Linked DNA regions of Homo sapiens: all the other regions are linked to region 3. The links are contacts of gene promoters, found by promoter capture Hi-C in blood cells and fetal thymus (Javierre and others, 2016). All regions are on one chromosome and are shown on one strand. The core of a region is centred on a gene start or on the middle of the fragment in contact, and the rest is flanking DNA. Distances in the headings are between cores, read along the strand shown. Region 1 overlaps KBTBD2 (kelch repeat and BTB domain containing 2). Region 2 has its middle 38 kb from the start of LINC00997. Region 3 holds the start of BBS9 (Bardet-Biedl syndrome 9).

The links. Contacts are between HindIII fragments. The CHiCAGO score rates a contact against its expected background, and 5 or more counts as called.
Region 1: a contact is called between a fragment that was not itself captured here and the fragment with the promoter of BBS9 in region 3, in 8 of 17 cell types (neutrophils, activated CD4 T cells, total B cells and 5 more). The highest score is 8.8, in neutrophils.
Region 2: a fragment that was not itself captured here is called in contact with the fragment with the promoter of BBS9 in region 3 in 2 of 17 cell types (neutrophils and M2 macrophages); the score reaches 9.6 in neutrophils.

What each region holds. Positions count from the first base shown.
Region 1 is chr7:32,868,451-32,872,823 of GRCh38, forward strand. It overlaps KBTBD2 (kelch repeat and BTB domain containing 2), which reads right to left. Exons shown (of 4, transcript NM_015483.3): 4 at 1-2,430. The coding sequence ends at 895. Among named protein-coding and RNA genes, the nearest start is that of KBTBD2, 21 kb to the right of the region's middle. The HindIII fragment of the contact is 180 bases long and covers 3,006-3,185 here.
Region 2 is chr7:32,793,990-32,798,971 of GRCh38, forward strand. No RefSeq gene overlaps it. Among named protein-coding and RNA genes, the nearest start is that of LINC00997, 38 kb to the left of the region's middle. The HindIII fragment of the contact is 4,579 bases long and covers 497-4,982 here.
Region 3 is chr7:33,127,592-33,131,913 of GRCh38, forward strand. BBS9 (Bardet-Biedl syndrome 9) reads left to right here and starts at 1,973. Exons shown (of 23, transcript NM_198428.3): 1 at 1,973-2,450. RefSeq lists enhancers at 1,386-1,435, 1,926-2,035 and a silencer at 1,576-1,875. The HindIII fragment of the contact is 9,509 bases long and covers 1,392-4,322 here.

The DNA of each region.
Region 1 (4,373 bases), core at 1,846-4,345, 260 kb before region 3:
CTAACAGATCTATACACAATCACTCTACAGTAATGCTTGTTATTAAATTAAGATGTAATGACCTGGTTAACCCACTCTAAATCTTGAAGATGGAGAACTACATCAGCAGCAGATAGTTATATGCATGAGCCAATGTTAACATAATACAGAAAGTGGAGGCTTTTTCTGATTAAAGCTCCACGCAGACCCGCACAATGAGTGGCTGGCAATTCTTACTGCAAGCCTAGCAACTTAAGTCCACACCTGGTAAATGACCAGCTGACTGGAAGACCTGTATTCTAGATAGACAAGTATAAGTTAGTGAAAAGAGAATACATGCACCTAATAGTATAGTTAGACTGATCCTGCAGTCATAGCTTTCCCTGTGTAATACCATAAAATTATGGAAGATCTTCCTCAACTAGAGTATAGGATTTAGACATTTCTATACCAACACGGACATTAGTGTTAAGTGCAGTTGAATTAATTACACTGAAAACTGTATTCCAGGACTTCAGAACAGAAGCACGGGAATGAAACACACATACTAAAATAACCTCAGCACAATTTGTGATACATCACACTAGGAACAGGAAACTACTTTTATAAATGAACTTTTTGAACTGTACATACACAGGGCTAACAATGTTAGATAATCCAGATTCTTATACTCTCATGATTACACATAAAGTTTCTCAATTATTGAATAATCTATTTCATATTATGGAAGCATATCTTTCTGTAAGACTCACTGATATATATTATACTGATGCAAATATTAAGTAGGGCATAAAAATAAAATTTATCAAAGATAGAATTTTATGTACTCATATTTAGTTCTTTCATAGCCTCTTTTGTTTAGCAAAGAAAATGACAAAGCACATAACTCAGGCGTGCACTCCCTGAACTTCCCCACTATACAGGTGGTAGTGCAACCATTTCTCCATCCAGTTCAAACTCTTCTGTCCCATCCGTTGAAAAAAGATAAGTTGGTGGTTTCCATGGAGACTCTTCAAGGCAGGATGGATAGAGTTTCCCCACAGTGCATCGAAAATCTCTCCCCAAGTCCCACAGTACACGTTCAGATATATGCTGCCGCAGAGACCACCGGTCAAGTTCCAGGTCATATTGGTAGGTGACGTATTTAGCTCGCTCATTTAAGTGGGTTTCTCGCATAAACACACATAGAGAATTTGAGATCACAACAGCTCTAACACAGGGGTCAGAGTACCTCTTAGCAGGGATGTTGGCTGCCATTTTCCACTCATTTTTATTCACATCATAAATTTCCACAGTTACTGAAGACCCATCTACAGTGCCAGAGGGGAGTCTTATGCCGGAATTGGTAGCAATATGCAACCCTCCAATATAGAAAATTTTATCACCAAAAGCTGCAGCTGAAGCAAAGGACCTACTAGTCTGTCTCATGGCCATTTCTACCCATGAGTCAGACCTTGGAAAATAACAGTACATGAGGTTCAGTGTCATCACATAAATGCAGTCATGAACCACAACTGCTGCACTCCATTGCCAAGCACAAGGTAAAGGGCTTACCATCGTCCACTCATCTTTCTCAGTGTCGTATCTTTCTACGGTCCTCCGATTAAGTTCTCCACCTACGCTATCTCCTCCAATTGCATAGATATAGCCTTCACAGCAAACCAAAGATGGCTTTATGCGGACAAAAAGCATTGGGGTCTTTGGAAACCAGGTATTTTGCTGTGCATCAAACCAATAAAAGCAATTCACAGTTCTGAAGGCAGTCTGAAGTTTGCTTGTTTTACTGTGATTTGTTTTTGTGTTTTTCAGAGGAACTTGACCCCCTGCTATGTAGATATCATTATCAGGAGTTACAACGGTCCCAACCTTATGCAAATCAGCTGGTGGGCTACATAACTTGTAAACTTTTTCTGCTTGGGGGCTGTAACAGACAGAAGAGTAAAGACTACAAGGATTTTCTGAAGATGCTTCAATGAAAATCATCATTTCCTCTTTAGTCATCCCAAGTCTTGGTTTGAAAAACTTGGGCATGGACTTATACAGACCTTGAACCACCACTGACTTATCATTGGGTGGCAGACCTTGAAACCAAGCTCTCTGTGTTACTTCTGAAAGTGCATCAATTCTGATTTGGCTAAGAACAGAAGACAAATACTGGGATCGTGATTCTGTGTTATACTCTAGCCACAGCATAGCAGCTTCTCGAACGGTTTCTTCCTTTTCTACATTTAAATTGTCACTACTGAGAATATCTATCAGTAGGTCATGTGACAGCTGCATGAACGCGTCCTGATGATACACAGCAGTGAACTTGTGCTCCACCATTCTTTTAGCACTCTGTTTTAATTCCTCACAACTGAAGAGATCAGCAAAACTCAACAATCGTACACAATTCTCTGCATTTATTTTTTTAATTAAATATTCTCGACAACGTTGTAACACATCTTCTACCTAGAATGAGAAGGAAAAAAAAAACAGGCTGATAGGGCCAGGACAGACACATTTTACTTTTATGTAAGACGTAAGTATATTAATCAGATGCCCATAGTGTAATTTTTATTTTCAGATACACACATCTGGGCTGAGATAAGGTCTTCTGGTAGTAATAAACTCAGAAGACTATAAAATTTTGCAGTATTTTTTCCTGCTCAGTGGCCTACTTAACTGTTCTATTTAGGAACCAGCAGTACAACAATAAATAGGCTCTTAAAAAACAAAACAGCCTTAAAGAATAGGTAAGGAAATTCACACATAAGTCATACTTTCCTAGACTTTATATATAATTGAGAGAACTATATGAAAAAATGTAAATAAATCATAGTATAGAGAAAATTATTGTTGTTGAATAACTGGATTCTGGTTTCCTCAATTTGAACACAGTCACATAAAACCAGAAAATCATGCACAATGAGTAAGAGTAGTTATTTGCCATTCTTATCGAGAGGTAAGATAACAAAGCAACACGAAATAGACTTACGTGCAGTTATAAATCACCTACATTTAAATGACCCATCTTAGCCACTGTAAGCTTCCTAGATTTGTTTTTTCTTAAGAAGGTAGATCTCAGTTGAATCAGATGTGCTACCCACTATACTTATTCAGCATCACAGTGATTAACTAGAAACTGTTTACACTGACAAGTCAGGTTGCTTGGATTTAAAACTTAATTGGCCAATTAGTACCTGGAAACTACTTATTAGGAAAGAAGCTTCACATCTCTAAACTTCAATTTTCTCTTATATAAAATGGGGAAATAATAGTTATCTCCCTCAAATGAGCCCTGTAAGGATCAGATGAGAATATATATAAAGTATCAGTACACCATCTGGTACTGAAACATATGATCACTTCATGTGGTTGATAGTGAAAGTAATATTGGTAGTCATAGAATGCCCCATCTCAGGCTTCCAGGGCAACACAGTCTAAGAGGCAGAGTCCTGTTTTGCATTTGAGCAAGCAGAAGTAGTATACGGTTTTCGTTAAAATGGCAGAAAAAAAATGTTAAGGAGCAGTGTCAATATTTACAGTAACAAAGTATTCTGGAATCAGATTTTCTTAAAATTCCTTAATGCCTTAGTAATTCTGAGAAATGCCTGCTTTTAAAAGAAGGACCAACAAAAAATTAGCTGGATGTGCTGGTGCATGCCTATAATCCCAGCACTTTGGGATTACAGGGAGGAGGATTACTTGAGCCCAGCAATTTGAGACTGCAGTGAGCTATCACCATGCCACTGCATGGTGGCATGCCACTGCATTCCAGCCTGGGCAACAGAACAAGACATGTCTCTAAAAATAAAAAGTAATGACAACTTGCAAACTATATAAAGACAGTGCTTCCAATAAGCATTTCTCCCGTTCAAGTTTGGAATTACTAGTGCACCAGCAAGCTACCCCAGCCTCAGTTTCCCCAGAGTTGTGGGTAGAGTAGAACACTAACGATAAAGTTAGTGTAATAAGGAGTAAAGGTTGGCCAGGTGTTGTAACTCGCACCTGTAATCCTAGCACTTTGGGAGGCCTAGGTGAGAGGAGTGCCTGAGCTCAAGAGTTTGAGACTAGCCTGGGCAACATAAGATCTTGTCTCTACAAAAAAATCAAATAATTAGCCAAGTGTGGTGATGCATGTCTACAGACCCAGCTACTCAGGAGGCTAAGGCTGGGGGATGACTTGAGCCCAGATCGAGGCTGCAGTGAGCTGTGATCTCACCACTGTGCTGCAGCCTGGACAACAGAGCAAGACCCTGTCACACAAAAAGTTGAGTATCCCTAATTCAAAAATTCAAAATCCAAAATGCTCCAAAAACTGAAATGTTTTGAGTGCTGACATGACACTTGAAATACTCACGGGAGCACTTCAGAGTCTAGATTTTTAGATTAGGGATGATGTAAATCTAACA
Region 2 (4,982 bases), core at 1,536-4,035, 330 kb before region 3:
ACCACCATGCCTGGCTAATTTTTTGGGGTTTTTTTGTTTTTTGTTTTTTGTTTTTTTTAGTAGAGACGGGGTTTCACCGTGTTAGCCAGGATGGTCTCCATCTCCTGACCTTGTGATCTGCCCACCTCGGCCTCCCAAAGTGCTGGGATTACAGGCGTGAGCCACCGTGCCCGACCAAAAATGTTAATTTTTTAAAACCAAAGGCTCAGTACGACAGGAGTTGAAGCTCTGATCGGTCAGAGAAGAGGATGGGTCATTTGAATATGAGCCAGAGTGCTGAGTGTTTGTGCAAATGTGATTTTTTTTTGCCTACCCTGGTGAAGCCACCTTAAATTAGTAATTGTCATTTAAAAGGGAAACAGAGAGATATATGTTAGCATTTGCCAATATTTGTATTTATTTACTAATTTTATTGATTACTTATTAATATTTCTAGACTTCATATCTGTACTATGTACAAATATAGTATAAATATAATAATGCACATTTGACAAAAAGCTTTTAAAGGAAGAGATAAAATATGTAAATAGATATTCTAATGTATTATTTCTACATGCCAATGGATCTTTTTTGGGTGCCTCCAGGGTATATGATTTGGAAAACATACTTTTTCTTTTCACAATAAGAACTCGCAACAAAGAAAAAATAGATTTAAACTACACACACACAAAATCTAAATTCTGCTTTGAATATCTTCTATTAGACACCAGCCTTTGCCCTAGGCATATATGAATATCCTGGGCCTTGAGGGGCTAGTAGTCCAATAAGGGAGAAGGCATATAAAAATATAACTTCAATATGATATGGTGGTGCCACCAAGATGGAAATGGGAGCAAGGCATCTTGGAATTCTTCCTGCAGGAAAGAAAACCTGAGAGGAGATTTGAATCTTAACAAAGAACTTGGCATGCAAATAAATGTAAGAAAGATATTCCCAACTGTTACGGGTTGAATTGCGTCTCCAAAAAGATATGCCAAAATCCTAACCCCGGTACCTGAGAATGTGACCTTATTTGGAAATAGGGTCTTTGCAGATGTAATCAAGTTATGATAAAGTCATTAGGGTGCACCTTAATCCAATATGACTGGTGTCCTTATAAGAGGGAAAGAGTCACAGAGACTCACACAGAGAGGAGAATGCCATGTGTAGACACAGACATACAGGGAGTCTCATTCTGTCACCCAGGCTGGAGTGCAGTGGCATGATCTCAGCTCACTGCAGCCTTCACCTCCCTGATCAAGCGATTCTCCTGTTCCAGCCTCCCCATTAGCTGGGGTTACAGGTGCCCGCCACCGTGCCCAGCTAATTTTCCTATTTTTAGTAGAGACAGGTCTCACCATGTTGGCCAGGCTGGTCTCAAACTCCTGACTTCAAGTGATCTGCCTGCCTCAGCCTCCCAAAGTGCTGGGATTACAGGCGTGAGCCTCTGCACCTGGCGCCAAACTTTAACTTTTTTTTTTTTTTTGAGATGGAGTCTCTGTCGCCCAGGCTGGAATGCAGCGGTGTGATCTCGGCTCACTACAACCTCCGCCTCTTGGGTTCAAACAGTTCTCTGCCTCAGCCTCCCCATTAGCTGGGATTACAGGTGCCTGCCACCATGCCCAGCTAATTTTTTGTATTTTTAGTAGAGACAGGGCTTCACTATCTTGGCCAGGCTGGTCTTGAACTCCTGACCTTGTGATCCACCCGCCTCAGCCTCCCAAAGTGCTGGGATTACAGGCATGAGCCACCGTGTCCGGCCTGCCAAACCTTAACTTTTTTTTTTTTTTTTTTGAGACTGAGTTTCACTCTTGTTGCCCAGGCTGGAGTGCAATGGCGCAATCTCGGCTCACTGCAACCTCCGCCTCCCGGGTCCAAGCGATTCTTCTGCCTTAGCCTCTCGAGTCGCTGGGATTACAGGCATGCACCACCATGCCCGGCTAATTTTGTATTTTTAGTAGAGATAAGGTTTCTCCATGTTGGTCAGGCTGGTCTTGAACTCCCAACCTCAGGTGATCCACTCGCCTTGGCCTCCCAAAGTGCTGGGATTACAGGTGTGAGCCACCGCGCCCAGCCACCAAACCTTAACTTTTAAACGATCATTCCTAGCTGATTTTTATGCAGCCTGCTCATTTCTTCAATATCTTTAACCTCTCTAAAGGAAAAACAGCCAAACCATTTTAAAAACAAAGATCTTTCTCGCCTCAACTCTTTCCCTCTTCTCCCCTTCACAAACCTTGTTCCATGCCTTGTCTTCCGATGAACCACAATTCTCCACTGAACCGAGGTGAGAGTGATTTGTGCAACTATCACTCCACTGAAGTTGAAACTTCAATCTTTTTAAAGTTCAGAGGCTACTTGTCTCATTGACACATGATAGTAATCCACACTGAACACTTTGTGTGAAACACTCTGAACTGGACTTCTGATGTTATGCTTCCCTGGTTTTCTTCCTATCTTGGGATTTTCTCAGCCTCTTGCTGATCTCACCTCTAACCATCTCAGATCTTGGCCTTCCTCTATTCATACATGCCGTAGGCAGTCTTGTTCATTACAGTGAATCACCGCCCAGACCATTACCTGAGAGTCTGCCTTGGATATCCACCTTGGATATCTCAAAGGTCTCAAATTTAACATGTCTGAAGAACCTCTGGCTCTTATCTACCCCACACCTGCCTGTGGTTCAGGTTCAGTAAGTGGCACCATCCCCCACTGGCTTTCTAAGGTAGAAACTTGAAAGTCAACTTCGACTCTTCCCTCTTCCTCACCTCCATGAATTCTGTCCGTCACAAGGCCTGGTAGGTTCTCAAATCTCTTGAATTCATCCTCACTTCTAACACATGAATCGAGCCCCTATCATCTGTCACCTGGAGAATTTAATAAATTTCTAAGTGATCCGTTTTTCAAAATTAACTGCATTATCGAGCTATAATTCACATTCCATACATTTCACCCATTTAACATGTACAATCCATTGATCTTTAGAGTATTCACAGAGTTGTGCACCTATCAATCCATTGTGTAACATTTTCATGACCCCCAAAACCCCATACCACTCTCCGTTCCCTCCCCAGATGATCTCTTTGGTGCAGTTCTTTGCTCACATTTTCTCCACACTGCAATCAGATATTTTTCAATACAATTTTAATGTCATGCTTTTGTTTAGAACATTTATTACCCTTGAAATAAAATCCAGGTTATTTTCTGATTTATAAGGCCTTTTGAATCTGGTCTTTGCTTGCTTTTCTGGACTAATTTCCTTCTTCACAATTTACAAACTGACCAAATTGAATGTTTTAGTTACTTTAATGGGCCTTCTTTTCATACAGTTTTTTCTGCCTTAAGCACCATTCCCCATGGACTGGTTAAATCTTAGGTAACCATACATCCTAGTTTATGCTTGTTTTCACTATCACTCTCAAAAGTGTGCCTGTTTGGATGGTAAATGATATGGTAACCCTGGTTAAGTTCAATTTACACCTCATGTAACTTCCTCCAGGAGGCTTTAACAAAAATTCTATCTTGGTTCCTTTTGTTTAAATTTCAAATGCACCTCATATTACTTAACACCCAACTGTATTAGTCATTTTGATTGTCTTCACTGCTGTGAGGGCAAGGGCTTGTGTCTACCCTATTTATCTCTTTATCTTCAACACCTAAAAGTGTGTGGCACATAACAAGCACAGAACTGAACAAAACCTATGTAAAGGAGTGTATAGGTCATGAAGAAAAATTTAATTTCAGTAAAGTCATTCAGGCAACTATTTTGGAATTCTAATTAGTACTGAAATGTCTCTGACACCATGGAGAAAGGATTTGTCAAATAACCATCAAATGAGTTGGAATTAAAAAAAAAAAAAAACTTCCCAACATATAAAAATGATATAAACAAGTAGAGTTTATCTCATAAATAAAAGATTGCTTTAATATCAGAAAATCACATACCATACTAACAGAATAAAGGACAAAAACCATAGGACTGTGCCAATAGATACTGATATGGTTTGGCTCTGTGTCCCCACCAAAATCGCATGTGGAATTTTTTTTTATATATATATACAGAGTCTTGCTCTGTCACCAGGCTGGAGTGCAGTGGGGTGATGTCGGCTCACTGCACCCTCCGCCTCCCGGGTTCAAGCTATTGTCCTGCCTCAGCCTCCCTAGTAGCTGGGACTACAGGCGTGCGCCACCACGCCTGTGCACCTGGATAATTTTTTGTATTTTAGTAGAAACAGGGTTTCACCATGTTGGTCAGGCTGGTCTCCAACTCCCGATCTCAGGTGATTCGCTCGCCTCGGCCTCCCAAAGTGCTGGGATTACCGGCATGAGCCACTGCGCCCGGCCTCATGTGGAATTTTTAGTCCGCACATGTTAGGGTAGGGAACTGGTGGGAGGTGACTGGATCATGGGGGCAGTTCTCCATGCTGTTCTTGTGATAGTGAGTTCTCACTAGATATGATGGTTTAAAAGTGTGGCACATCCCCCTTTGCACTTGCTCTCTCTCTCTCTCCTTCTCTCCTTTGTCTCTCTCCTCTCTCTCTTCTCTCTCTCTCGTCGCCATGTAAGATATGGCTTGTTTCTCCTTTGCCTTCTGCCATAATTGTAAGTTTCCTGAGGCCTCTCCAGCCATGTGGAACTGTGAGTCAATTAAACATCTTTTCTTTATAAACTGCCCACTCTCAGGTAGCTCTTAATAGCAGTGTGAAAATGGACTAATACATAGAAAAATTATTTGACAAATTAGAGGACCCATTTATGATTAAAACTCACCAAATTAGGAAGAGAAAGAAACTTCCTCAACCTGATGAGGAACATCTATGAAAAATCTACAGCTAATATGTATAATAGTGAAAGATGGAAAACTTTCCCCCTACCATCAGGAGCTAAACAAAGATGTCAGCTTTCACCACCTCTATTCACAATTGTACTGGAAGTCCTAACTGAGGCAATAAGACAAGGAAAAGAAAAAATTTAACCCTCAATAGTTTAAGGAAAAATGAAAA
Region 3 (4,322 bases), core at 723-3,222:
AGGCTGGGGTGCAGTGGCACGATCCTGGTTCATTGCAACCTCTGCCTCCCTGGTTCCAGTGATTCTCATGCCTCAGCCTCCTGAGTAGCTGGGATTACAGGCATGCGCTACCACGCTGGGTTAATTTTTTGTATTTTTAGTAGAGATGGGGTTTCACTATATTGGCCAGGCTTTTCTCCAACTCCTGGCCTCAAATGATCCTCCCGCCTTGGCCTCCCAAATTGCTGGGATTACCGGCATGAACCATTGTGCCTGGCCCTAAAATATACTCTTAGATTTGGGTTTCTAACAACTTGAAGATCAATGGACAATATAACAATTTCCAGAACTGTAATAAAAAAGTGGGTTCATGAAACTATTAATCAAGATCAGGCAGAACAAGAATTAATTACGTGAGTTTAACTAATGAAGACAATGTTTTTATGATATTATTTCAAATGTTGTTGGTTCTTTACTCAAATAGTTTTTTCCAGATTTAAGAAAATCTTGTCTTTTAAGCTATTTATAATTTACAGCAATTTGATAGAGTATACTTGTGTAAAAAAAGATAAAAACTTTTTTTCTCTTTACTTGATTCCTCCATAATTAGAAAACCATTTGTGAGTCTTCTTATGGTAATATGGTCATTTCAATAAGTCTAATAAAAATCTGCTCTCTCTGTATAGCAGAATACAATTGGAAACTGGTTATATTACCAAGGCTTTGACTGAAAGGTCATTTTTAAAAATATTGAGGCCGGACGCGGTGGCTCACGCCAGCAATCCCAGCACTTTGGGGGACTGAGGTGGGTGGATCGTTTGAACCCAGGAGTTCGAGAGCAACCTGGACATGGCGAAACTCCATCTCTACAAAAAATACAAAAATTAGCCAGGTGTGGTGGTCTGTGCCTGTAGTCCCAGCTTACTAGGAAGGCTAAGGTGGGAGAATCGTTTGAGCCCGGGAGGCTGAGGCTTCAGTGCTTCAGTGAGCAGTGATCCTGTCACTGCACTCCAGTCTAGGCGACCCTGTCAGGGAGACCCAGTCTCAGTTAAAAAAAAAAAAAAAACCCAAAACCCAAAAAACTAAAACTAGAATGGTATTTTCTACTGGGAATGTGGATTTGTGGATTGATGGTGAAATACTGGAAATTTAAAGCCTACACTAGAATCCATTGAAAAAAGCAAACAAGAAAAACTTCAAGGTTGGCTACATTGAATTTGAATGTAAAGATTAAAAAAAAATAAGTAAAAAACAAAAGAAGACATAGATCCAATCCCATATACCAGGAAATGCACTCTAAGGTATATACGGAAAATATATTTAACACATGTGTATCAGGACGCAGGCACAAGTAACTTCAAAGCAGCGCTGTTTCAAATAGTAAAAAAAGGAAAAACTGGAAACTGTTCAAAAGCTTCATCATCTCGATGATCTTGGTCTTCCGCCTCGCCTTCTTCTCCAAGGTGAATATGTACTGGGCCAGCACCACCCCCGCCACCAGGGCGCACACGCTGGCGCTCGCTACCGCGACCACCCTCGCCACGGTCGCGCGGTGCATGGACGGGGCCCTCATGAGTGTCCCGGCAGGAAAAAAACACCGCGATTGGGACTCTCAGAAGCGCAGGATCCCAGAGCACCATGGACAAGCCAGTGACGCCCCGCCCCCACTAGGCCCCACCCACACGCACCGAGGGGAGAGGGCGGTCACGCGGCCGGGGGGGCGTGGCCTGCCCCCGGAGCCCAGGCAGGAGGAGGGTCTTCCTTAAGGAACTGCTGCCAGGACAGGGCAGAGGATTGCAGTAATTATCACTCTCTGCTAATGAGGACCAGGCCGTGGTTCACTCGAGCCCCGCCCCAGTAGCAATCTAATTCCAACCGCGGCCCTCTCAGAAGTCGGTCCCCGCCTTTGCGCCTCAGCCTCTCTGGACTCCAGCCCCCAGAAGTCGGCGCGGCACGGCGTGACCTGCGCAGTGGCGTCCGTTGTAAGTGCTATGACAACAGGGCGAAGATGGCTCAGAGTTAGGCTGGAGAGGGGAGGTGTCCCTTCCGCTGCGGCCGTCGGGTTTCTGCTACATCCCATTCACCGCCTCCTCCATCCTTTCCTCCTCGGTGTGAGCAGCAGGACTTGCATTTGTTCTCGCCTGCCTAGTGTCTTCCAAGGGATAGATGCCGTTTCCTCTGCTGGTCTCTGGGGGTGACGGGGGGCGCAGGGGAGCTTCTTGGGGGAATCACTCCAACTCTGTGGAGCTGGTGGTGCTGCCTGGTGGGGCTCTCTCTTTGCCCGGGACGTGGAACAACTTTCAGCTGGAGGACGAGAGGGAATAGTGAAGCTAAAGGTTGCTTTTCTCTGCACCGTCCGTTCTTGCTCCCTCTGCTCCATCACTGGGACCTTGTCAGGCGTTCATAAAGCAAAATTTGCCGAACGAGGGTTCGCAGAAAGGTGGGGCAGAGCTCATCTGACGTGGCATCAGGTAAGATGGTATGTCTGTTGTTAAACTTCGGGTACATGAATACCCTTTCCATGTTTTATTTTGTGAACAAGATTCTCTAATGCAGTATAATGGTTTGGAGTCTGTAAGGTGATTGATTTCTTAGATGTTTGCACTGAAATAAACAAACACTAGGAGCACAAAGTGTATGAGATTCTGTGAGTACTTTTGAGAAAAAAGGGATGAGAATTTTTAAGGATTCCATTGAGGAATGTCACTTGGAGCATGAGCATCCTCCTGAGACACTTCAACAGGTCTGTGAGTAAATGGGCAAAGCAGTTCCCAGCCTACGACTGAAGTAGGATGCATGTACTAATACCCCCAATCCTTCTAGTAATAGGATTATTGTTTCTCCTCTTGTTACTTGGAGACCACAACAGTTTAGATGAGCTGCGCTGATTTTATCAGCACCTCCTGCCAGTCAAATCCTGCCTTTGACTTCAATTTCCTGGAGAAATGTATTTTTTTGGGTATCTCACTTTTACTTTAAAAATGAAACCGTATCTTACAGGTATACACATCTTACATGTCCTCATTGATAAACAACTTGAAAGATGCTGCAGGATAAGCTATGGGTCTTAAGTTGGCCAGCATTCAGAGAAAGATTTTCTAACTTATTAGCATTTTATAAAGAAAACAATTACTGAGATTTTTTTCATGAATATACGGAAGAATTAAAAAAAAAACTAGAAAACCCAGAAGTTTTTAAAGAAGAATTTTAAAAAACTTTATTTTGAAAATAAGTTACAAGTTATTTGTCAGAGTTTAAGGGATTTTTCCTTGTGTGTAATTGTCGTGGTTAAATTACAACTATACACTTATATTTATGGTACAACTTCTTGATAGAAATGCTCACTGAAGGGAAAAAATCCAACAGCAATAGTATATATAGTAATTTTAAAACTTTTACACCTTTTGAGGGATGTAGTAAGTCTTACGCTTTAGAATACTTTGAAATATTTTTGAAAATTATTAAAATACATGAAATTATTATAAAACATCCCTGCTGGTTAATAACATTTCCATTAGTGATTACTATCAGTCTTTGTGAGTCCCATTTAAAATTTCGGTCCAGAGGGTGAGTTTGGCATTCGTAATTGTGTCTTGCACAGAACACACTACCACCGTCTCTTTCAACTACCACTACTACCACTGTCTCTCCTACTAGCACTGTTTCTACTGTTGGGTTATTACTGACATCTATTGAGTACTTGCTATGGGTTGAGCCATTTTATCCTCCTCCACCCTAGAACAATTGAGATACTAGAGGATAAGGGACTTGTTTAAGATCATGTAGTGTAACGTGGTCAGAAAGTGCACCCAGAGCTGTCCTACTCCAAATTTTGTGTTATTTTGCCCTTTGAGTCTTTTGTTGAAAATTCCAACAGTGAGCCCTTGTATTATTGCCTTCAAAAGCAGTATACTTCTTTTGAACACTACATGCATTTGTCATCTTTCTTTGACTGGAAGACCTGATTTCTACTTTCTTAAATTTGGTGTGACACTGGCATAACCTGGAGAAAGCAAAGCTCTGAAAATGAACAACAGCTGCAAGGTCTGTTTCCAGAACTGACCTTCAAACCTGTATGTTTTTTCCACAGCATTCTTTGGGGTTATTGTTTTCACAGCTGATCATATTGTAGGACTAGGTCAATGAGGTGTTCAAGACCAGCCTGGGCAACATAGTGAGACCTCGTCTTTGCCGAGCATGGCAGAAAAAATAAAAATTATTAAAACTTTTTAAAATATTAAAAAAAGAACAATAGCAAATTAAATTCAGAAGGTCAGCAAAAAAAGGTCAGCCACCTCTTAAATGAAACCTAAATCTGAGTAAACTTGTTGTAGAAAAAAAAG